Regions from separate parts of the Homo sapiens genome. Here regions 1 and 2 are each linked to region 3. The links are contacts of gene promoters, found by promoter capture Hi-C in blood cells and fetal thymus (Javierre and others, 2016). All regions are on one chromosome and are shown on one strand. Each heading gives the region's core, a stretch centred on a gene start or on the middle of the fragment in contact. The rest is flanking DNA. Distances are from core to core; before and after follow the strand shown. Region 1 overlaps LOC105378771 (a long non-coding RNA gene). Region 2 has its middle 28 kb from the start of ROR1. Region 3 holds the start of UBE2U (ubiquitin conjugating enzyme E2 U).

Region 1 (4,612 bases), core at 1,377-3,876, 500 kb after region 3:
AAGCGATGTAAAAAAATTACACCAACAGTAAAGCACTCCACCAAGAGAGATCTCATGACTGACATTTCTTCACAAAGTATATTTCAAAGAAAGCTAAACAAACTCCCCCAAACTTTCCACTCTCAGGGCTATTTTTATTTTGTGATTTTCCAAGCCTCAAAATGAAATTGAAATGTAAAAAAACCATCAGCGGCTGCTTTTTATATGGTAGTTTATAAGAGTCAGGATGAAATAGAAATCATGATAGCACAAGGCCCCTATTTTATATTCTCAGAGGGAGGCTGAGAGCTGGGAGCGCTGATGACTTTGGGGAGGGCAGCTGAAATCACTAACGCCAGCCTGGCTCTAACCAGCCTGTGCAGTTTTAAGTGGTCTAATCAGCCCTGCTTTTCACAAACACAAATAAATAAAAATTGACATTACATCGGGCAACAATATGGCATGCCCTGTGCAATTAGAACCAGCTGAGTTTATGCACCCCACGGTTTACAGAGAAGGCAGCCATGCACTGCACTCTGGGGACAGATGTCTATGTGGCTTCTTAACACACATGTTCCAGCGCAACGGTTCCCAACCCCTTGGGGGTGGGGGGTGCAGAGTTCTTTCAGATGGCTCCACAGATGCATACGTTACAACAGCCATGTCAACAGACTGGTTAAATCCTGGCTCCCATATAGACGTGGGTAATTCTCAAGTGTGCCTCCATCTCCTGGAGGCTTTTGTTCCTTAGTTATTTTCTCAATTAACAGATACTAAAAGCACCAGAACCGTGACGTGGGGGTGAAGTCTTTTACGTTAAGAAACAGTTCTCATGCTCAAAGGGGTTGTATCCCATTGTTCTAATGTGACAAAACCCCAGAATGTATTAAAATCAAGTTTGAGAATGCTGTGGCCACATGGAGAAAAGGAACCACAGGGGTCTGAGAAAGAACAGCAGACGAAACCTGCTCTGGAAGCTCCACAGCTGGACCTGCTCTTGGAATCAAAAGATTCCTCTGCTCTATGATTTCTCTCACCCGGTCACCCATTCCCTGGTTCTCCAGCCTTGCCTCCCTCCAGAGAGGGGCTGTACACTCTGCAGAGGTGAGGAGTGACCTTGCTAAAGTACAAATCTGAATGTGACATTCCCAAGCTCCAGGAACTGCCCACTGCCCTGGGCACAAAGCCCAAACTATTTTTTTTTTTTTTTTTTTTTTTGAGACGGAGTCTGGCTCTGTAGCCCAGGCTGGAGTGCAATGGCACAGTCTCGGCTCACTGCAACCTCTGCCTCCCAGGTTCAAACGATTCTCTTGCCTCAGCGTCCCGAGTAGCTGGGACTACAGGCACGTGTCACCACACCCAGCTAATTTTTGTTTTTTTTGTTTTTTGTTTTTTTAGTAGAGACGGGGTTTCACCATGTGGGCCAGGCTGGTCTCGAACTCCTGACCTCAGGTGATCCACCTGCCTCAGCCTCCCAAAGTGCTGGGATTACAGGCATGAGCCATCGTGCCTGGCCAGCCCAAACTCTTTCAAGTGCTCACAAGGCTCTAGGCAACACCCAGCCCACCCCCTCTCCTCTCTAATTTCATCTCCTGCCTCCCTCTCCCACTCCAGCCCCCCTGCTCTCTGCCTTCTTTGAATCCATCCACCCCCAGCCTGGCCTCTGCATTTACACACACGTATACCTTCAGCCCGGAACACTTTCTCCCTCCTCACCTTTGCCTGAATAACTTCAGCTCTCTGAAGTTATTATCTGAAATTATCTGAATAATTTCAGATCTTGTTTTAGAAGCCACATATTATACCTTGGAAAGGTTTGCCAGAGTTTTCGCCAAGACTGAGATTGGAAGGAGGTGCCCCTCCTGTGGCTACAGCTTCCTGTAATAGTTTCACGGGAGCATGAACTAGGGCTGATTCCCTAACCATTTCTCCATCGCCAGACCTTAAGCTTCACGAGGGCCAGGCTGAGCTCTGTTGGCTGACATATCCCTCTGGAAGGAGCTCAATATGCAGCTGCTGAGTGAATGTGTTCAGTGAGCATCTTTCCCACTGTGTGATCTGATGAGTGATGTTTTAGACAGAGGAACCTCTAGGCACTGCCCACCGCATCACCCCACATAGCCAAACACTTATCCTGAAAGCACAGATTGTTTTCGGCACAGGTACTAGTTGTTGTTGAAGAACACAGCAAAGGCCCTCAGGAAGTTCTGGCATTGGTTACAAGTGCTTAGAGAAAGACATGCTTGAATTGAGAGTAAAAACAAGAGAGAAAAGAGTTAACTCAATGGAAAAGATAGAAGAAGAAAGAGACAGGAAAGCACTCACAACTTCTTCCCCGCCCTCTCACGTCTGAACCATTTCCTGACCAGAAAACTATTTCTTAATTTTTACTTTTAATTATTTTATTATTTCTTATTTCTGTGGGTACATAGTAGGTGCATATATTTATGAGGTACATGAGATACTTCAATACAGGCATGCAATGTTTAATAATCACGTCATGGAAAAGGGGGTATCCATCCCCCCAAGTATTTATGTCTTGTGTTAAGATGCCTGGGTTCTGGTTATGACCTCCTCTCTAACTAGTTGGGGACCCTGGGCAAGTCACTTAACCTCTCTGAACTTCAGTTTCCTCATCTGTGTACTCTTTTTGTTATTTCTTTTTGTTATTTCTAAATGTTCTCTTTTTTGTTATTTATACTCTTTTTGTTATTTCTAAATGTTCAATGAAATTATTATTGACTATAGTCACCCTGTCGTACTATCAAATACTAGGTCTTATTATTCTTTCTAACTATTTTTATTTTGATACAAGTCTTTCAGGTCTGTCTTAAAGTCATAGGATGTTAAGGGCTAAAAAGGCCCAGAGAGAGCAGTAAGTTGCCCAAATTTGCCCAACTAGAGAGGGGCAGAATTCAAATGAGAACCCGGGTTTCTGATGCCAAGCTGCCTCCTCTCTGCAGAACGCCGTGGTGCTTAGGCCCACGTGCACACTTCTCTGGAGAGATCGTGCCAAGCCCCAGAAGTAGCATGTGTGCCCTTCAGCCTGAGACTGCCTTGGTAAATACATATTGCTTCCTGGCTTGCAAAGCAAATATTTACTCAAAACCCACATAGCACGGTGCATAAGTTCCTGACATCCCCAGGCAGTTTCTAACTCACTTATCATTTATTTTAAATTTGTTTTTTAGTGCATGTATTTTCTGCATTAGACTTGGAATAAACAGAGTTCAGAGTAGACGCTGGACAAACCGAAAAGTGGTTTGTACTAAAAAGCACTAGTCTCTGCCTATCACCTCTAAATTCCAATTTCTGAGAAGTCTGTGAGCAGAATCAATCAAGCTTAAATGGAGTCAGTGCTCCATTTAAAGGCAGTCTTTAAGGCAACACAACATGGTGTCCTTTGGGAAATGGGCTGAAGAATTAAGGAGTCACAAATGGCTCACATCATTTGCATAATATTGAGATTCAGGATATCTGGGTTCTGGTTATGACCTTCTCTCTAACTAGTTAGTGACCCTGGGCAAGTCACTTAACCTCTCTGAATTTCAGTTTCCTCATCTGTGTAAAGTGATTAATGATAGCTTTCTACCTAATTCACTATATATATGGACAACAGGCCAAATTGAAGGTCAAGTCCCACATCTATTGACCAAGTATTAAAGGCCTACTAGGGGCCTGGCTGTTTTATGAACTGAGCAGACGGCAGTGAAAAAAATGAAAATGAAAACCTGTCTTCATGGAGCTTGATTTTGTAGGAGACAGACAGATGGTAAATAAAAAATAAGTAGTAATGGGTCTGAAGCTAAGTTGTAAGAAGAAAAATCACCATGATAAGGGAATAGTAGTTTGTGGGGGGTGCCGTTTTATGAAGGATGGCCAGTGAGATGCTCTCTGATGAGTCCTGAAGGAGATGGAGGAAGAAAGAGTTCCCAGGCAAGAGGAGGAGTGGAAGCAGAGGCTCCAGGGGTAATGCTTAGGGTGTTCAAGTTGGGAAGACCACGGTGGCTGGTGCAGAGTGAGTGGAGAAGGATGGAGATGGAGTCAAGAAGGATGGATGGGCTGGGAGTGGTGGCTCACGCCTGTAATCCCAGCACTTGGGAGGCCGAAGCAGGCAGATCATTTGAGGTCAGGAGTTCAAGAGCAGCCTGGCCAACATGGTGGAACCCCATCTCTACTAAAACTACAAAAATCAGCCAGGTGTGCCGGCACATGCCTATAATCCCTGCTACTTGGGAGATGAAGGCAGGAGAATCTCTTGAGCTCAGGAGGTGGAGGATGCAGTGAGCCGAGATCATACCACTGTACTCCAGCCTGGGCAACAGAGCGAGACTCTGTCTCAAAAAACAGAAACAAAAAAAAAGAAGGAAGGATAGAGTTCCTAAAATGTAGTGTGCAGATGTGCACAAGCATCCCTGGATGTCCTGGGAAAGGTGATCTAGAGATCCCCCATTGTCATAAACACTGGCCTGGAGTCTTGCCTGTCCAAAGAGTTCCCTAGACCACAATAAACACCACTCCAACTTGACTCGAGAATGTGGAAGGCTCCCTGGTTGACCACGAACATATACCCATCCACATCAGCTCAGCACATATAAATTACATGGTAGAAGTTTTGTCAGACTTTTAGTCC
Region 2 (4,761 bases), core at 536-3,035, 460 kb after region 3:
CTTCTGACTGCAAGCTCAGGGTTCTTTGCGTTTCACCATACTGCCTACCGCCCAGATCTCAAATCCTATAAGCATTTTCTTGGAAATAAGTATGCACTTATTTAGTGTCCAGAATACATAGGACACTCTCTAAAGAAAAAAAAGAAAAAAAAACAACCTCTTATTTATTTTGAGCTAGTCACAGTTTATGCAGTTTATATAGAAGGCAGCAAAATAGAATGATTAAGAGTATCGGCTTTAGGGTCATTTACTAGGTATATAACTCCTGGCAAGTTAACATCTCTGAGCCTCAGTTTCCTCATTTGAAGCTGGGAGTAATTTAGAAAATGGAAGTGATGATAGTACTTCCTTTCCAGGAATCTTGTCAGAACTGTGAGAGATAGGGCGTGTCAAGCATTCAGCACATGGCTTGGCATAAAATAGGGCTAAAGAAAGTTCATTTACTGTTACTTGTGAGTGCATTGGGCAGGCAGTGAGAAGCAGTATAGCATGGTAGTTACAAGTAAGGAGGCCCTGGGTTCAAATCCCAGCTCTGCCACGTATTAGCTGTTTACCTTAGACAAGTTACTTACAGTCTCTGTGATTTCATGTTCTTATCTGTGTAAACGGGACAGGTCACACTAGTACCTACCTTGTAAGACTGTTGTGAGGTGTAAATAAACAAATGCACTTAAGATGCTAAGGCCAGTGTCTGGCACACATAAGAAACCATTGTACATGTTAGCTGTTGAGATTGTCCTCTTGGATGACTCTCTTTCCTTCAGCAAATCCCTAGTCTGTAATTGCAAACAATTGTAAGACCACTTTGGAATATATTCCCACTGCCTTCAAACCCATGTCAAAGGAGACGGCCCTCATGATTGTCACCTCACTCACCTTTGACTTGAGATTTTGATCCCATCTGTTCTGATAAGTGTGCTATAATTGTCTCAACTAACTTTGCAGATTGGTGGTGCCAGGATTCCTCTCTGAAGCAAAACGCCAGTAGCAAGTGCTGAGCCAGCTCTGGGATGGACAGCAGGAGTTGGCAAGGCTAGCCAGAGTCAGCTGAGGCTTGCACCGCAGGGCCCTGTGGAGTCCAAGTTACAATTTAAAGATCTTGGACCTCCTGAAAGGCACAGAGAGGAGAATGCTCCCTGGCTGACAGTGGGACTCCTCCCCAAGACTCTTCCAAGAGAGAGCTGCCTGGAGGGTGACGTAAGGTATGGCATAGAGTTACAACAATTCCGAGCCCCTAAATCTTGTGTTCCGACCCCTCGGCTGAGCTCCACACACAGCTGGTCTTCTGGCTGTGCCTGCTTCCATCACTGATTCCTGCTTAAAGCACATGTTTTCTGCTCTGCAAGTGCACTCAGTGCATCTGGGAATGCACGAAAGCTCCTGCCTCCAGCCTCTCAAGATACTAAACACACCTTACAAACATGTGTCTTTCCATTGTCAAAGAATGCAGCATGGAATGTTTGGGACATATGGTTTAAAAGAAGCCTCAGTCAACAATACCAACTAAAAAACCACCTTACTGAGGTGGGGGCTCAATAAAGCATTTCTCCAGGCAGTCGCATGTAGGCCACACACTCATCTTCCACACTGGTTGAAAGCATCTAGAACCTGGTGCCACGGGCTCCTGAAGTCACCCAAGGCTAAGCAAAGCCATCTTCCTGAAACATTTATTTTATCTAAGGGAAGCAAAAATAAAAAGCTTCACCTTTACCTTAAGAATATAAAATATATTTAATATAAATGTGGCAATTAATATAACAAACTTCATAGTTCAAATGAAATTTTTAGATAAGACGCAAGATTTGGTAGTAAGTTTGCATCGGAGGTAGTAAGTTTGCTGCCATAAGGGGTGTTTCTACAGGAAAGCTTTAAACATGTTGGGCCTTACTCATGGTCTGAAGTGCAAGAGAGAAGGCGGCACCACAGAGCCGGAGTGCTGGGTGTGGGGTCCAGAGGCCTGCAGGTGGGCCTAGTCTCTGCCACCTCCTTACTGTGTGACCTCAGCACTCTTCTGGAAGGTCTAGCGGGAATGTTGGTCTAACAGAGATGTTAATCCTGGTCCCCTGTGCCTCCCAGGGCTGCTGTGAGAGTCAAATGAAACAATGCGTGTGAAAAGAGCCTTAGAAACGGCAGAGTGTTCCATAAATGTAAGTTCTTATGATTCAGCCTTGTTGTTTTTGGAAAGCCTCTTTCATTTTATAGATCGCATGTATTCTCCCCGCCTCCCATAGTCAGATCAAAAGTGTTTGCCTTTCCCTTCAGAGCGAGGAACCTCTGATCTGACACGAAGCAATGAAGTCACCAAGCTTCCTCTCACTCAGCTTTATGCCCCAGCCTTGGGAGAAGCATGCTCCCTGCCAGCCCACGCCACCTTGTTCTGAGGGGAAGTTAGTCACCACTGTCTGAATTTCATTATGCAGGTCTCCAGACAAGCAGAGGGGAAAAGTGCAAAGGAGCAGGTCAGCGTCTGAAATGTGAGAGGGTAGCAGTCTCTGAAGTGTATGGGAATGGGAGGAAACCTAATACTGCTCCCAAGGGGAGGGGGAGCATTGCATCATGTGGAAATAATTGCAGGCGGTCAGCACAGCTTGGGGTTTGGGGAGGCAGGATAGCCCACTGACCCACTTGCAAAAGGGTTTTGACACTTTTCTGTTGTAAAGGGTACTTGCATGGGGACACTAATACATCAGCCTGGGTGCCTGCAGGGACTAGAGATTAGAGCAGGTCCTAAGAGACTAGATTCTATGGGATTCTGCTTGCAGGTGGTTTGAACCCAAACTAGAATTCTGAAAGGAGCCCCAGAGTTGAGAACTGGAGAGGATGGGGCCCACGAATTAGTCAAAACTACCATTTATTGATGTATTATTTAATACATCCTAAGTACATACTTCAGTTGATCCTCACAATAACCCTATAGGTAGGAATTATCATCCCCATTTTATGTACAAAGAAACAGACTCAATGAGTTGAGCGACTTTTCTGAGAGCACACAGCTAGTAGGAGGCTGAGCCAGAGTGTGAATCCAAACCTGTGCAAATGCAGATTTCTTGATTGGAAACCCTTTGATACAACCGTCTTTAAGTAGAAAGAGGAGCCATGATGGGAATTGGGTGGAAAGCGAACCAAAGTGCAAACACAAAAGGAACAAAGGAGGAAGGTCTGGATTTCTGACATGTTGCTGACTTGCTCTGGGCTGGAGAAAACATGAGTATGGTTTCTTCTGTGTGTTTGTAATGTAAGCATTGGCCACCTTTCCCCAGTAGGTAACCAGTGGCCTTACTGCAGAGTTTCTGTGGGGCTGGGTGAGAGTGGGGCAGCCACTATTAGAAGGAAATGCAAAAGCCACAAGCATAAGAAAGAGGGCATGATAGAGGGGAGCAGACTTCCTGTCACTGATGAGATTTTCCTCTGGTGCTTTTGTCAGCTCTCTATTGCTACGATAATGCTACATAACAAACCATCCCAATGTCTAGTGTCTTTAAACCACAGCCATTTACTATTTCTCATGCATCTAGGAGCTGGCTGAGCAACCATGCTGGTCCAGGATGGGCTCAAAGTATGCAGCTGAGCTTGTTATGTGACTGCCCACAGCTGGAAGGTCTGCCAGAGTTGGCTGATCTAGGATGGCCTCAGCTGGGAATATGCATCTCTGCTTCATGTCATGTCTCATCTTCCAGCAGGCTAGTTCAGGATTGTTCTCCTAATAAAGGCAGAGGGGCAAAAGAAAGTGGAAATGTTCAAGAACTCTTGATCTTAGAATTGACCAAGATGGCCAGGTGCGCTGACTCACGCCTGTAATCCCAGCACTTTGGGAGGCTGAGGCGGGTGGATCACGAGGCCAGCAGTTCAAGACCAGCCTGGCCAAGATGGTGAAACCCTGTCTCTACTAAAAGTACAAAAATTAGCTGGGCGCGGTGGCAGGCTATAATCCCAGCTACTTGGGAGGCTGAGGCAAGAGAATCACTTGAACCTGGGGGATGGAGATTGCAGTAAGCCGAGATCACGCCATTGCACTCCAGCCTGGGCAACAGAGTGAGACTAAACTCAAAAAAACGAACTGACCAAGAGGTCTTGGTTTAAGACCTTAGGCTTGGAACCGATATACCACTACCTCTGCCACATTCTACTGGCTAAAAGTAAGTCACAAGACAGCCCAGATTCAAGGGGTAGGAAATAGACTCCATTTCTTAATGGAGTTGCTGGCAAAGTCACAGTGCAAAGTACTTGAAGAATTGCAGCCATTTTTTGCAATCAATCTGACATGGAAACCCATCCCAGTCCCAAAAACAGATGAAAGGCAGTGGCATTTCCCAATATTCTGGACTATGCCCACTTCCTTACCAAAAACCCTTTGCCCACTAACTGCCATTTCCCTGCCCAGTCTGTCTGTTTTATTAACACTAGACTGGGGAGGGAGAGATATAATGACTCTAGAATTGGGCAGATAAAACAATGTGTCTGACTTCTTTTTTAAAGGTACTAAAATTCAGACTCTTTACCCACTGACTTCATCGCTGTAGTTTTTGTAACTACGAAAGTTTCATTAGAAAGTATACTTAAACTTTCTCAGTGAGCCATCCCAGCCTGGCCATACTTGTATGAGAATGCTGTCAAATTCCAGGAAACAGATGTTCATTTAATAAGATGAATTTTTACTAATACTTCCACCCCACTGTTAATACTGTGTTTGTGATTTGAATTTAAGACACTAAACTTCTGCAATTTATTTCCTACAGTGTGGCTGAGATCATAGGCTTCCCA
Region 3 (4,283 bases), core at 450-2,949:
TTTAAAAGAAAGAAATAGTTGGAAAGTGCATGTTTCTTCAAAACATTTTAGAGCTATATGAATGCTATATGAAAGGCATGAAGTGGGAACATTTTCATTAAGAAAAAATCCAAAATTACACTTGTATATAAAAGCAAAGTTTTCCTATACTTGAGGAGTTGTTCCAATGGAGGGACAAGAATGTATTTCATAGAAAACCTTATGAATTACGTTAAGTAACACACTTACAAACACATAAAAACACTTCTGAGCATCCACATAGTTATTAAGTATGTTAGTGCTTGTCTGGGTGAGCCCTGTCTCTCTATTATCTATATTTACATATTCCTTCATTGGATTCTCTTTCAACAGAGAACTACAGAGCTCAGGATGAGCAGAAACAATATCAAATGTTAGGTCCATGCCCCAGGAATGTTCGCTGTTGGACTCCATAATTGTTCCTAACATCTCCAGTGAATGCAGTACTTTTATAGCAGAGGTAAAAAATGAACAATGCCACTGAACTACACCTGAAGCAACTGTGGGAAGCACTCTATACCTTTCATGGACAGCTTTCTTTCTGTTCTTTCTCTTAAGCACTCCCTCTTCGCCCCCTCTTCCATTTTTCATTTTCCGTAAATCAGCCTGTGGCAGCCATGGACATTGATAACCTCATTGGTGGCGTTTAAGCCCAAGGACATTGCTTCTTTTGTGTTAAAACTATAAAGGGAAGGCATTTATGTGTCATGCTGGTAAAAGTACACTAGACAGTAAGCAGTGGAACACAGGAATTAAGAACTAGGGCTTTGAAGTCCAAAAACCCTGTAATGGAATCATGGGGCAAAATCTTTACAGAATATTTCTGAGGCTTAGGTTTTTGGTAAGTAAAATGAAATACTACTTATTGTATAGTATTATAATTAATGAGCATAAGCCTGCACCTACTAGTCACTAACTACATGACAGACCCTGATATTCAGTGCCTAGATCCACATAAATTACTCTGCATAATATGTTCAATATTGTTAAGCATTATTATTTTGAAGTAATAATAATTGTTATTAATATGAAACACATTACTTCAGTGAAATGGATTTATTAAATAACAATACTGTAGTGGCAAATCAGGTTTAACTAAATTACTACTTATAGAATAAAATGGGTTAAACTGCCTCTTAAAAATTATTGCACAATGAAACACATCTCTCCACGTGCCCAGTACTTACCTTATAATTGTTCTCCTTGAGATCACAGAAGTCTCTGTGCAGCAAGAGGTAAGCTCTGCCGTGCATGATAGGCAGCGGAGGGTCTGACACTTGTCCCCAAATGCCTCAGGTTTACTCTGAGGCAGATGTTTGAAGTTATGGGTCACTTTCCCACACTTAGTAAACTGATATAAGTTACTTGCTTTCTAGAACCTCAGAACGGTACCAAGATAAGCGGCTTCTAAAGTTGGGATATAACAATGACTTTTTCTCCTGACTCCTCTAAACGAGAACTTCCCGAAGGAAGACTTGGGCACTTCCTCATCTGCGGCGTTTCACTGCAGTGCCGGCTCACAGCCCAGTCTCAAGACAAACTTGGATGAGTAACGGAGACAAGCCCATGTCGTCGGCGCGTGAGTGGGAGTGAGAGGTGTACGCCTATCAGGGTCCTAGCAGGTTGTCTTCGCTTCACAGGTGCAACCCCGCAGCCACGCACCGGAGGAAGCAAATCGGTTGCCAACCAACAGGCCCCCGTGGGGCCGCCGAGAGACGGAGGCAGGGGGTTGGCCGCTCTCACCCAATCAGCGACAGGGGGCAGGCCTCTTGCTATCTCCACAGCCAATCCTACAACAGTTTCCCCTTTGAAAGGCCAATGAGATTCGTGGTCAAGGCAACACCACGCCTTCTCAGGCCACGAACATGGACTGTACAAAACTAGTGTAGAGGATGGGGTGAGGTCCCAGGACCCAGCATGTAAGTCACAGAAGCCGTCCCACGAAGTCTTTCTTCGAAATTATCCTTCCTTTTTCTTTGACTATCAAAAGATATAGTAAGTGACTGGTAGGTACAGGTCTGCATAACAATATCTTAACTTACATGGCGAGTTACCATTCACAGTAGTGTGCATGCTATTATGTCATCAAACCCTACAATCACCCTGGGAAAGTGCTCCAGGAACAGGGAACTGCTTAAAATTTCTCTGATTCCCATCTCTTCCCGCACAGTTTCGCACCTGCTGTTCCTTCTACCTAGGAGTTTACCACATTCCTTCCACCCCTTCAGCCCTCATTTCCCCTTCACTCACTCATCCTTCAGATTTTAACGACTCTTTAAGGGATCCTTTCTTTTGTGATCCCACAGGACCTTCTATTTGCCTCCTAGTTAACATTTGCCATACGGCATCACAATTGTCTATTGTCTTCACCAGAGTGGGAACTACTGAAAGACACGGTTCCATTGCCAGCGCCAACTACAAAGCCTGGCATCTTTGTTCAGAATACTTTCTTTTTTTACTTTTTACTTACTAATTTTATAGAATCCGGATGTTCATTTAGTCCATTCATTTTACAAATATTTATTAAATACTTTTTTTTTACTTGAAAGATTCAAATGAAGTAAATGTCTTTATGGCTCCAATATACAATAAACAAGTATGCAAAACAAAAATCATGATTTCAGATGGTGATAAACGTTATGTGGACAATAATAAAACAGTACCATGATAGAGATTGGGGTAGGTCATTAAGGATTAGAAATGGTAGTCAGGAAATGCCTCTGTAAGGAATGGGGTTTTGAACTCATACATGAAAGATGAGAAGGAGCCTGCTACATGAAATATTGAGGGCAGAGAGTTCTAGGAAGAGGAAAACAAGATATTTTTGAGTCAGGAAAGAGCTTGTCTTGAAAAGGGAACAAGGGAAGGTCAGGGAGGTTGTGGAGGAGCCTGGGAGGGGTGTGATAAAGATGGGCACTATACAGTAGGAAGTTTGGGCTTTATTTGAATAGCTATGGGAATCCATTTAATGGGTTTAAACAGGAGAGTGTCATGCTCTGATTTATTTATTTATTTATTTATTTATTTATTTATTTTATTGATCATTCTTGGGTGTTTCTCGCAGAGGGGGATTTGGCAGGGTCATAGGACAATAGTGGAGGGAAGGTCAGCAGATAAACAAGTGAACAAAGGTCTCTGGTTTTCCTAGGCAGAGGACCCTGTGGCCTTCCGCAGTGTTTGTGTCCCTGGGTACTTAAGATTAGGGAGTGGTGATGACTCTTAACGAGCATGCTGCCTTCAAGCATCTGTTTAACAAAGCACATCTTGCACCGCCCTTAATCCATTTAACCCTGAGTGGACACAGCACATGTTTCAGAGAGCACAGGGTTGGGGGTAAGGTCACAGATCAACAGGATCCCAAGGCAAAAGAATTTTTCTTAGTACAGAACAAAATGAAAAGTCTCCCATGTCTACTTCTATCCACACAGACCCGGCAACCATCCGATTTCTCAATTTTTTCCCCACCCTTCCCGCCTTTCTATTCCACAAAACCGCCATTGTCATCATGGCCCGTTCTCAATGAGCCGCTGGGCACACCTCCCAGACGGGGTCGTGGCCGGGCAGAGGGGCTCCTCACTTCCCAGTAGGGGCGGCCGGGCAGAAGCGCCCCTCACCTCCCGGACGGGGCGGCTGGCCGGGCAGGGGGCTGACCCCCTCTCCCCCCTCCCGGACGGGGCGGCTGGCCGGGCGGGGGGCTGACCCCCCCACCTCCCTCCCGGACGGGGCGGCTGGCCGGGCAGAGGGGCTCCTCACTTCCCAGTAGGGGCGGCCGGGCAGAGGCGCCCCTCACCTCCCGGACGGGGCAGCTGGCCAGGCGGGGGGCTGACCCCCCCACCTCCCTCCCGGACGGGGCGGCTGTCTGGGCGGGGGGCTGACCCCCCCACCTCCCTCCTGGACGGGGCGACTGGCCGGGCAGAGGGGCTCCTCACTTCCCAGAGGGGGCGGCTGGCCGGGCGGGGGGCTGACCCCCCCCACCTCCCTCCCGGACGGGGTGGCTGCCGGGCGGAGACGCTCCTCACTTCCCAGACGGGGTGGCTGCCGGACGGAGGGGCTCCTCACTTCTCAGACGGGGCGGTTGCCAGGCAGAGGGTTTCCTCACTTCTCAGACGGGGCGGCCGGGCAGAGACGCTCCTCACCTCCCAGACAGGGCGGCGGGGCAGAGGTGCTCCCCACATCTCAGATGATGGGCGGCCGGGCAGAGACGCTCCTCACTTCCTAGATGGGATGGCGGCCGGGAAGAGGCGCTCCTCACTTCCTAGATGGGA

Evidence for each region. The method cuts DNA at HindIII sites, captures the fragments that hold promoters and counts their contacts. A CHiCAGO score of 5 or more calls a contact.
Region 1: a contact is called between a fragment that was not itself captured here and the fragment with the promoter of UBE2U in region 3, in 2 of 17 cell types (M0 macrophages and M2 macrophages). The highest score is 5.8, in M0 macrophages.
Region 2: a contact is called between a fragment that was not itself captured here and the fragment with the promoter of UBE2U in region 3, in 1 of 17 cell types (fetal thymus). The highest score is 5.4, in fetal thymus.

What each region holds. Positions count from the first base shown.
Region 1 is chr1:63,699,780-63,704,391 of GRCh38, reverse strand. The region is part of intron 1 of LOC105378771 (a long non-coding RNA gene); the gene reads right to left. Among named protein-coding and RNA genes, the nearest start is that of ROR1, 72 kb to the left of the region's middle. The HindIII fragment of the contact is 1,394 bases long and covers 1,930-3,323 here.
Region 2 is chr1:63,744,015-63,748,775 of GRCh38, reverse strand. No RefSeq gene overlaps it. Among named protein-coding and RNA genes, the nearest start is that of ROR1, 28 kb to the left of the region's middle. RefSeq lists an enhancer at 2,204-2,498. The HindIII fragment of the contact is 167 bases long and covers 1,702-1,868 here.
Region 3 is chr1:64,201,039-64,205,321 of GRCh38, reverse strand. It overlaps UBE2U (ubiquitin conjugating enzyme E2 U), which reads right to left and starts at 1,699. Exons shown (of 10, transcript NM_001366232.2): 1 at 1,206-1,699. The coding sequence starts at 1,271. The HindIII fragment of the contact is 16,836 bases long and covers 1-4,283 here.